Linked DNA regions of Homo sapiens: region 1 is linked to region 2. Evidence: promoter capture Hi-C in human tissues and cell types (Jung and others, 2019). All regions are on one chromosome and are shown on one strand. The core of a region is centred on a gene start or on the middle of the fragment in contact, and the rest is flanking DNA. Distances in the headings are between cores, read along the strand shown.

What was found. The method cuts DNA at HindIII sites, captures the fragments that hold promoters and counts their contacts. A contact is called where the count stands out against the background at its distance.
Region 1: a fragment that was not itself captured here is called in contact with the fragment with the promoter of CCKAR in region 2 in 1 of the 25 tissues and cell types used here (aorta).

Annotation. Positions count from the first base shown.
Region 1 is chr4:25,191,153-25,196,534 of GRCh38, reverse strand. The region is part of intron 1 of SEPSECS-DT (SEPSECS divergent transcript); the gene reads right to left. It overlaps LOC105374535 (a long non-coding RNA gene), which reads left to right. Exons shown (of 4, transcript XR_925490.3): 3 at 4,807-4,911. Among named protein-coding and RNA genes, the nearest start is that of SEPSECS-DT, 33 kb to the right of the region's middle. The HindIII fragment of the contact is 4,908 bases long and covers 1-4,815 here.
Region 2 is chr4:26,488,897-26,493,747 of GRCh38, reverse strand. It overlaps CCKAR (cholecystokinin A receptor), which reads left to right and starts at 3,264. Exons shown (of 5, transcript NM_000730.3): 1 at 3,264-3,592; 2 at 4,264-4,515. The coding sequence starts at 3,481. The HindIII fragment of the contact is 14,703 bases long and covers 1-4,851 here.

The DNA.
Region 1 (5,382 bases), core at 1,112-3,611, 1.3 Mb after region 2:
GGTGCTCAACATTTGTGATTTCATCAATTGTCCAAATAAAACACCAGTTGAGAAAACTGAAGAGAAGAAACTAAGAGAATGTATTTAATGTCGTGATGTGTGTATGTAATTTATAAATTATATGGCTGGAGAAATTGCAGTTTATTATTTCAGGATGCAAAATAGACTGGAAATCTGAATCAGTTACAGGAGATGTATTGCAGTTAAATGAATTGTTTTGCTTCACAAATACATGAAAAAATATAGTCGTGTGAAGGATATTGGATACCAAATGGACTTTATTTTTAACTGTTTGTTTTAATAGCTCATGAAAATACGGCGGTGCTTTTATGGCTGCAATGAATTTTAGGAATAGGAGACTTCACTGAAGCTTTCTAGCACTAAATCTTTTTAGTGGAGACCTAAGAGACTTAGTATGCTGGTGTCTCTCCATGCATCCTGGTGGCCAGTTCCTCCTCTGCTCTTATTCATGCTTTTCTAAAAACTGGAGGCTGTGAGGATGGGTGGAAGGGGTGATAATTTCAAGAGCTGGTGCCTAGGAAAGTCGTATCATCCCTCATGAGCTTCATTTGCTTTTCTTAAGTTGATTCTCATTTTTTTTTTTTTTTTTTTTTTTTGAGACAGAGTCTGTCTCTTGTCACCCAGGCTGGAGTGCAGTGGTGCAATTGTGGCTTACTCAGCCTCGACCTCTTAGGCTCAAGAGATCCTCCTGCTTCAGCCTCCTATGTAGCTGGGACTACAGGCCTATGTCATGTTACCTGACTATTTTATTTCTTTTTTGTAGAGACAGCGTCTTGCTATGTTGCTCATGCTAGTCTCAAACTCCTGGCCTCAAGAGATCCTCCTGCCTCAGCCTCCCAAAGGGGTTACAGGTGTGAGCCACCACACCTGGCCAATTCTCATTTCTTAAATACAAGCCTTTTCCTCTTCCTGTGTAGGGTATATGATGGCTTCTTTGGAATTGACTTTAAAAGCGGGAAGATTTGGGAGGCCAAGGCAGGAGGATCACTTGAGCCCAGGAGTTAGAAGTCGTAGTAAGATATGATTGTACCACTGCACTTCAGCCTGGGTGACAGGGTGATACCCTGTAAAAAAAAAAAAAAAAAAAAAAAAAAGATAAAAGAAAAAAGACAGGAAGACTTTGTGGGTATATAAGATTCTTTTATTTTAATATTAGAAATTCAGCTTAACTTCTTATCCATAAAAAGGGAATTGATGGCCAGGCATGGTGGCTCATGCCTGTAATCCCTGCACTTTGGGAGCCTGAGGTGGGTGGATCATGAGATCAGGAGTTCAAGACCAGCCTGGCCAAGATGGTGAAACCCCATCTCTACTAAAAATACAAAAATGAGCTGGGCGTGATGGCAGGTGCCTATAATCCCAGCTACTCAAGAGGCTAAGGCAGAGAATTGCTTGAACCTGGGAGGCGGAGTTTGCAGTGAGCCGAGATGGCACCACTGCACTCCAGCCTGGGCGACAGAGCAAGACTCCATCTCAAAAAAAAAAAAAAAAAAAAAAAAAAAAGGAATTGGTTAGCTCACACAACTGAAAATCTAGGTCATATTTGACTTCAGACGTGGCTAGATCCAGGAGCTCAAAAGTGTCAAAGAATTGGTTTGCCTGTTTCCTGTCTTGCCTGCTTTCCTCTACAGTGGCTTCATTCTCAGACAAGCCAGTCTCTAGAGGTAACAAAATACCTGCCAGTAGTTTGTCCTCTCGGCAAACTCAGAAAAAAAAATACCTTCTTTCTCCAATAGTTCCACAAAAAGGTATCTACTCTGGAGGGCAAGGCTAAGGACAGGGCTGATTCTGAGCCAGAGGGCACCAGTACAGGTAGAGCAGCAGTTTCTAGTTGGCATCGAATTGGGCAGTGCTTATGCTTTATCTCTTGTTAACAATTTTGAAGTAAGAAGTGGCAAATGACTTATCCTTTTGGGCTTTTGGTAACTTTCATTTCATTTCATTCACCTTCATCTTCATTTTTCCCTTACCTCTTTCTTTTGCCCTTCTAAAATATCAGTAAGTGGGTGGGTGAGATTTGATCCTAATTGGGGTAAAATGAGGGTGATATAGTCATAGTGGTGGTGATTGTGCCTTTGGAAAGTGGGGCCTGGTTATACCAGTCCTAGTTTTCCACCACAAATTCCCTTGTCCCCTTTAGTTGTCTTAAAAGAGCATGGACAATAGAGCTAGAGCTCCTGGTCTTAAAATCAGGCATTTCAGCTCTGCCCTTATGAGCTGTGTGACTTTGAGCTATTGCTTAACCTCTCTGTGTCTCTGTTTTTTTACCCGTAAAATGAAGATAGCAACAGGGAATTGTTGAGAGGATTAAACAAATTAATATATATAAAATACTTATGTGATAGACTGGATTTTTAATTACCTATATATAATCAGCTGTGGGAAGAATGTACCTCCCCATCCCATTTGAAGTTAGACTTAGTCTTTCTTTGTAAGGCAGTATCTCACTCTGTCACCCAGGCTGGGGTGCAGTGGCACAATCATAGCTCACTGCAGCCTCAACCATCTGGGATCAAGAGATACTCCCATCTCAGTTCCCTTGAGTAGCTGAGACTACAGGTGCATTGCCACCACACCAGGCTAATTTTTCAATTTTTTGTAGTGATGGGGTCCCACTGTATTGCCCAGGCTGGTCTTCAACTCCTGGCCTCAAGCAATTCACCTACCTCAGCCTCCCAAATTGCTGGGATTACAGGTGTGAGTCACTGTGCCTGGCCTTAGAAATTTCTTAAAGGAAGATTTACAAATGGCCAATAAGCACATGAAGATACTCAACCTCAGTAGCCATTAGAGAAATGCAAACCAAAATCACAGTGAGATACCACATCATACTTACTAGTATAGTTATAATAAAAAAGCCAGCCAGATAGGCCGGGCGCTGTGGCTCATACCTGTAATCCCAGCACTTTGGGAGGCTGAGGCAGGCAGATCATTTGAGGTCAGGAGTTTGAGACCAGCCTGACTAACATGGTGAAACCCCATCTCTACTAAAATACAAAAATTAGCCAGGTGTGGTGGCAGGCATCTGTAATTCCAGCTACTCGGGAGGCTGAGTCAAGAGAATCGCTTGAACCCAGGAGGCAGAGGTTGCAGTGAGCTGAGATCATGCCACTGCACTACAGCCTGGGTGACAGAGTAAGACTCTGTCTCAAAAAAAAAAAAAAAAAGCCAGATAATAACAAGTATTGATCAGTATGTGAAAAAATTAGAACCCTTGGTGCAATGGCTCACACCTATAATCCCTGCACTTTGGGAGACTGAGGTAGGAGGACTGCTTGAACTCAGGAGTTTGAGACCAGCCCAGGCAACATAGTAAGACTCCCATCTTTATATTTAAAAAAAATGAATGAATAATTAAAAAAAACAGAACCCTTATACACTGTTGAGAGGATATAAAATGGTGCAGCTGCTCTGAAAAACTGTTCAACAGTTACTATAAAAACTCTCTGGAAAACTGTGTGGCAGTTACTCTGAAAGTTAAATATAGGTTTACCAAATGACCCATCAATTTCACTCCTAGATATAGACCCAAGACAACTGAAGTGATATAAATTGGTATAATATTTCTGGGATGTAATCCTATTTGACCCATAAATTCTACCTCTGGTAATATATTTTAAGGAAGTATATATTTTCTTTTTTTTTTCCCAGGCTATTCTCAAACTCCTGGGCTCAAGTGATCCTCCTACCTCATCCTCCCAAGTAGTTGGAAGTAAAAGCAGGCACCACTGCACACAGCTCTAATAAAATATATTCAGACAAGAATGCAAAATATATGTATAAGATGTTCATTGACGTATTGTGTAATAAATTTGGAAATAACTTCAAAGATCTATCAATAAGAGATAAGTTATGACACAGTTTGTATTAGGCAGTGGAATACCTAGCACTTATTTAAAAGGATTTCGTTGATAGCTGGGTGTAGTGGCTCACACCTGAAATACCAGCACTTTGGGAGGCCAAGGCAGGTGAATCTCCTGAGCTCAGAAGTTTGAGACCAGCCTGAGCAACATGGCAAAACCCAGTGTCTACCGAAAATACAAAAAATGAGCCGGGCGTGATGGCACACACCTGTGGTCCCAGCTACTTGGGAAGCTGAAGTGGGACGATCTCTTGAGCCTGGAAAGTGGAGGTTGCAAGGAGCTGAGATCACTTCACTGCACTCCAACCTGGGTTACAGAGTGAGACCCTGTCTCAAAAAAAAAAAAAAAAGAAGAAGAAGAAGAAGAAGAAGATAAGGCCAGGAGCAGTGGCTCACACCTGTAATCCCAGCACTTCGGGAGGCTGAGATGGGCAGATCACTTGAGGGTAGGAGTTCGAGACCAGCCTGGCCAATATGGTGAAACCCCATCTCTACTAAAAATACAAAAATTAGCTGGGCATGGTGACTGGTGCCTGTAATCCCAGATACTTAGGAGGCTGAGGTAGGAGGATCACTTGAACCCGGGAGGCAGAGGTTGCAGTGAGCCAAGATCGTGCTACTGCACTCCAGCCTGGGCAACAGAGTGAGACTATGTCTCCAAAAAAAAAAAAAAAAAAAGAGGATTTTGTGTTACTGGGCTGATGATCCTTTTACCCTGTAATATTTATCTTGTTTGGAGATGGAATGAACAGACTAGGACAAACATCTGCTTTTCTTATTCACTCACCTCTGGGCCCAGTTCCTAGAAGATACCACATATTTGAAGCAACAAAGGAGAATGTGCAATGTTTGCAAATTCTTTTTCTACAGTTCCTGGTTGTTGAAGGCTATGTTGAGTTGCTTTCTATGTTTCTATTTGACAGCTGGGGGTGAAAGATGCCCTTCAGTGTCCCAAATGAGAGAAGAGAATTTTAATTGGGAGTGGCCAAGGTTCACAATTTCAGCCTGGAGGAAAGTAAATTAAAGAGGTAAGGGCAGCTCCCACCTTGGAAAGACAATCTCCGCAGGCCTGCAGAAACAGACCTGCAGAATACCAGAGGCCCCTTGTCTACTCCCAGATCACTGAGAGAGTTTCCCTAACTTGAGGCTCAGCAACATTTGGTATCCTACATTTAGGCAGAGGGTTGCAAACAGTAGGGGCAAATGCTTGAACTCTGCTTAGCACTGAGTGGTCTTTGCTGCTTTTGGTCCTGAAATTTCTACCATGTTCCAATGAATCTAAGTACAATCTAGTCTTGGGGTCAGGTGGGGTAGCCAGCCTAAATTTTGGGATTTTTGTTGTTGTTGTTGTTTGTTTGTTTTGAGACAGTTTAGCTCTTGTTGCCCAGGCTGGAGTGCAGTGGCGCGATCTTGGCTCACTGCAACCTCCACCTCCCAGGTTCAAACGATTCTCCTGCCTTGGCCTTCCAAAGTGCTGGGATTACAGGTGTGAGCCACCA
Region 2 (4,851 bases), core at 2,015-4,514:
ACCCTGAATGGCTGGTGATGTCTGCCCAGCTGGAGCAGTTGAAGCAGCAGCCAAAACCCTGGATGCTCATCCCTTCCCACATCAGAACACAGCTGCTCTGGGTCATCGCCCAGTGAGCAGGGTCCATCATCTGTAGACAGGGAAGATTCAGACAAAAGGACTCATAGCAGGAAGGAGGAAGAGAGACGAGAGCCCTGGCTCCAAACAGGCTACATGATGCTAGAATAGGGAAGGAAAGCTCCATGCCATGGGAAGTGGCGTGAGGATGGGGTCTGCAGGGTCCTCGAGGGGAAATCCACCACTGGTTCTCACCAGCAAAGCATATGGCCACTGTGAGTCCCAGCCTTCTCATTTGTAAAACGAAAATAGCCATTATCGTAGGAAGGCTATGAATACTGCTGCCTGTGATTTATTGAACATTTTTTGTATGTCAGACACTCTATTGAGTCAATCGTTCAATCTTCATAACAAATATCTATTAAATCATTCTGATCCCCATTTGACAGATGGAAATGAGTCTTAGGTTAAGAAACTTGCTCAGGCTGGGCGCAGTGGCTCACACCTGTAATCCCAGCCCTTTGGGAGGCCAAGGCGATTGGATAACTTGAGGTCAGCAACTTGAGACCAGCCGGGCCAATTTGGTGAAACCCGTCTCTACTAAAAATGCAAAAATTAGCTGGTTCTGGTGGTGCATACCTGTAATTCCAGCTACTTGGGAGGCTGAGGCACGACAATTGCTTGCGATTGGGAGGTGGAGTTTGCAGTGACCCTAGCTCATGCCACTGCACTCCAGCCTGGGCAACAGAGCAAGACTTCGTCTCAGAAAAAAAAAAAAAAAGAAAGAAAGAAGAAAGAAGGAAGGAAGGAAGGAAGGATGGATGGAAGGAAGGAAGGAAAAGAAAGAAAGAAAGAAAGAGAGAAAGAAAGAAAGAAAGAGAAAAAGAAAGGAGGGATGGAGGGAAGAAAGGAAAGAAAGAGAGAGAGAAAGAAAGGAGGAAGGGAGGGAAGAAAGGAAAGGAAGGAAGGAAGGAAAAGAAAGAAAGAAAGAAAGAGAGAAAGAAAGAAAGAGAAAAAGAAAGGAGGGAGGGAGGGAAGAAAGGAAAGAAAGAGAGAGAGAAAGAAAGGAGGAAGGGAGGGAAGAAAGGAAAGGAAGGAAGGAAGGAAGGAAGGAAGGAAGGAAGGAAGGAAGGAAGGAAGGAAAAGAAAGAAAGAAAGAGAGAAAGAAAGAAAAAGAAAGGAGGGAGGGAGGGAAGAAAGGAAAGAAAGAGAGAGAGAAAGAAAGGAGGAAGGGAGGGAAGAAAGGAAAGGAAGGAAGGAAGGAAGGGAAAGAAAGAAAGAAAGAAAGAGAGAAAGAAAGAAAGAGAAAAAGAAAGGAGGGAGGGAGGGAAGAAAGGAAAGAAAGAGAGAGAGAAAGAAAGGAGGAAGGGAGGGAAGAAAGGAAAGGAAAGGAAGGAAGGAAGGAAGGAAGGAAGGAAGGAAGGAAGGAAGGAAGGAAGGAAGGAAGGAAACTAATTTGCCCAGTATTTCCTAGCAGGTAACCAGTGAAGCCAGGATTTGATCCCAAGTCTGTCTGATGCCAAAGCCTGTCCTCCCAATAACATCCACAGCTTCTCCAGTGTCCCTTCCCCTTCTTGTTTCTGTGACTAAATGCCCCAAACCATGTGGTCTTCATGGTTTCAAAGAAAAGAGGCACCACTGTCTTTCCAGCCCCACACTGACAGTAAAAATGCGTTAGTTCCTCTGTGTCTGGCAGAGACTCAGCAAGATGTAGCATGCAGCTCTGCCAGTGGAAGCATTGTCAGTACACAAGGAGCCCCACGGGTATCTAGCAAATGGACCAAGTCTCAGCACAGCCAAGCAGGGCGTCAGAAACGCAGGTTTCACAGCCATTGTCGTCTGCTTTCCAAAGGGTCTGAACTGAGGACATAATCTGTGCAATGGAGGTTGAAGGGCTTTCCAGCACCACAGAGCTTCATGGAACACCCAGGACCCTGAGATGGCCCCCCTCTCTGATCTCACGTCCTGCTGTTTGCCTCTCACTCACTCCTACTTCTATCTATTTGTACCTCAATGGGGCCACACTCATTCCCACCTCAGGGCCTTTGCACTTGCTGTTACCTCTGCTAAAAGTGCTCCTCCTTTTGCCTGGGAGAAGCTGTCTTGGGATCTTCACAAGACTTTGTCCTTCTTGTGGTTCAGTCTCAGATCACAGTCCCCTCCTTAAGAGACCTCTCCTGACTACCCCTTCTAAATCAGCAGCCCCAGGCCAGGTGCAGTGGCTCACGCCTGTAATGCCAACACTGGGAGGCCAAGGCAGGAGGATTGCTTGAGCTCAGGAGCTTGAGACCAGCCTGGGCAACATAGCGAGACCTCCTCTCTTCTAAAACTAAAAAAATCAGCTGGGCTTAGTGGTGTGTGCCTGTAGTCCCAGCTACTCAGGAGGCTAAGGTAGGAGGATTGCTTGAGCCAGGGAGCAAGGCTGCAGTGAGCCATGATCGCGCCACTCCACTGCAGCCTGGGGAACAGAGCAAGACCCTGTCCCCGCCCCCCAAAAAATCAGCCCCTAATCTGTTTGTATACATCACATCTCCCTGCTTTACTCCCTTTGTAGTACTTACTACCTGAAATAATTCTGCTCATTATTTGCTGACATGCTAGAAAAGTGCCTGGCAAATGATTGACTCTCAATGAAGATGTGCTGAATGCAAGGCTTCATGAATGAAGAGGAAATCTCACTAACGTCTTTTGTAATAAGGACCCAGGTACCTATGTTCAAAAGTGCCTCAATCCTAGTTAACAAGGGCAGAGACCACGAGAAACAACACTGTGTTTAGTAGCAACTTAACAACCAGCCAGCAGTTCTGTCCACACACACACCACCGGGCATGGTTCCAAAGCTAAAAAGGCACTAATTGCTTTTCTATAAGGAGGTAGAACACAGTCCCTCCGTGTTCTTTAGGCCTGATGGTCTGCATTATCGGATCTGTTACCGTGTTAATTGTTCCTGTCTCACACAGCCGGTTTGGGCTTTCTTCTGCATATGTCTGGGATGGTGACGGGTTCCTATATAGAGGAGTACTGGGGAAGCCTCTGTGTGTGTGTGTGTGTCCGTGCATATGTACACATGTGTGTAAAAAGCAGCCACACGCTGAGAATGGTTAACGGGTAGCCAGGCTGTCTGTACTCAGGGCCCTAAGACTGGCCCAGGAAAGGGCCGGGGGAGGTGGGGCGGGGTGAAGGTGGAGCGGGCTTGGCTTGTGCTCACTGCCTTTTCCACAACAGGAGTACAAATGCTGGAGTGAGTGAGGTGAACTCAAGTCGCCTTTAGGAATGGCTGAAAAAGCCCACACCTGGAAATCACTCCCTCCCTGCTCCTCCACGGCAGGTTGCATCTGCGAGACGCTTCGGTCATTAGAGGAATGAGCCGGGAGTGAGCAATTCACCAGCTCTCCAGCACTTGGTGGAAAGCAGCAGGCAAGGATGGATGTGGTTGACAGCCTTCTTGTGAATGGAAGCAACATCACTCCTCCCTGTGAACTCGGGCTCGAAAATGAGACGCTTTTCTGCTTGGATCAGCCCCGTCCTTCCAAAGGTAAGTGTCGGAAGCTGTTATTTTAATTCAGGAAACTATTGAGTTGTGGGAGAAATCAGCAAAGGCAAGGCTGATAAAAAATATATATAACCAAGTCATTGTGAGACAAGGCTAGATAAAGTCATATGTTCAGAAGTTTGGAGAAGAGATTAAAAAGCAGAATAGAGTCAAATATTCTTATTGTCCCCCATGGGGGAGTTGGGCATTCATGAATAGGACTTGGGGGAACAAAAGCAGGGGAGGAAAAGCTGAGTGAAGCAAGAGGGACTACAAGTGTCAAAGCCTGAACTTACAAGCACAGCAGAAAAGGTGTTGTCACCATGCAGCTGTTTTCTTTTCTTGGGGGGAAACCCAGCATGAAGTGATTAAAGTGAAATAATGCTTAGCAGCCAGGAAAGAAAGTGATCACTGTTCACTTGAGGAGCTTTGTTCTTAAGAAAAAGTGGTTCCCTGAGTGATCCTTTAACAAACCAACCTTCTAAAAAGAAAATAATTCAGTCTCTGCTTTCCTCAATTTGTTTCCGCAAAATGTTGCCAGGACAGGAATCGTGGGTCCAGTGATGTACACCCCGGTGGGGGGAAAATCGGCAGGAATTCACCCTTGGCTTCGGTTTTAGCATTCTGCTGTCATCACCTCCATCCCTCCGTCTTGCTCCTGTTTCTCTCTGCAGAGTGGCAGCCAGCGGTGCAGATTCTCTTGTACTCCTTGATATTCCTGCTCAGCGTGCTGGGAAACACGCTGGTCATCACCGTGCTGATTCGGAACAAGCGGATGCGGACGGTCACCAACATCTTCCTCCTCTCCCTGGCTGTCAGCGACCTCATGCTCTGTCTCTTCTGCATGCCGTTCAACCTCATCCCCAATCTGCTCAAGGATTTCATCTTCGGGAGCGCCGTTTGCAAGACCACCACCTACTTCATGGGTAAGTTGCTGCTGGTGACTCTTTCTGGAGCTTGCCCCAGACCCCACTCAGCCCCAGACCTTCCCAAACCTCTGACAATCACAGCAAAGGAGCCCTGCTGAGGGCTGAATCACAGAACATCAGGCTGTGCATGGCTGTGTGCACGGACATTGGTGCTGGCTTGACAGTCATCCTTATACGTTCCCCACAAGTCGGTCCCCATCATCCATGTTGGAGGTCAGTTTCTAAGAGTGAAATAAATTGATAGGAAAACACAGGGGCAGTTGATTTTGCTTGCTTCTATTTGAAGGGAAGAGGGACTTGCTTGCTTCTGTTTGAAGTCAGAAGTGACTTTAA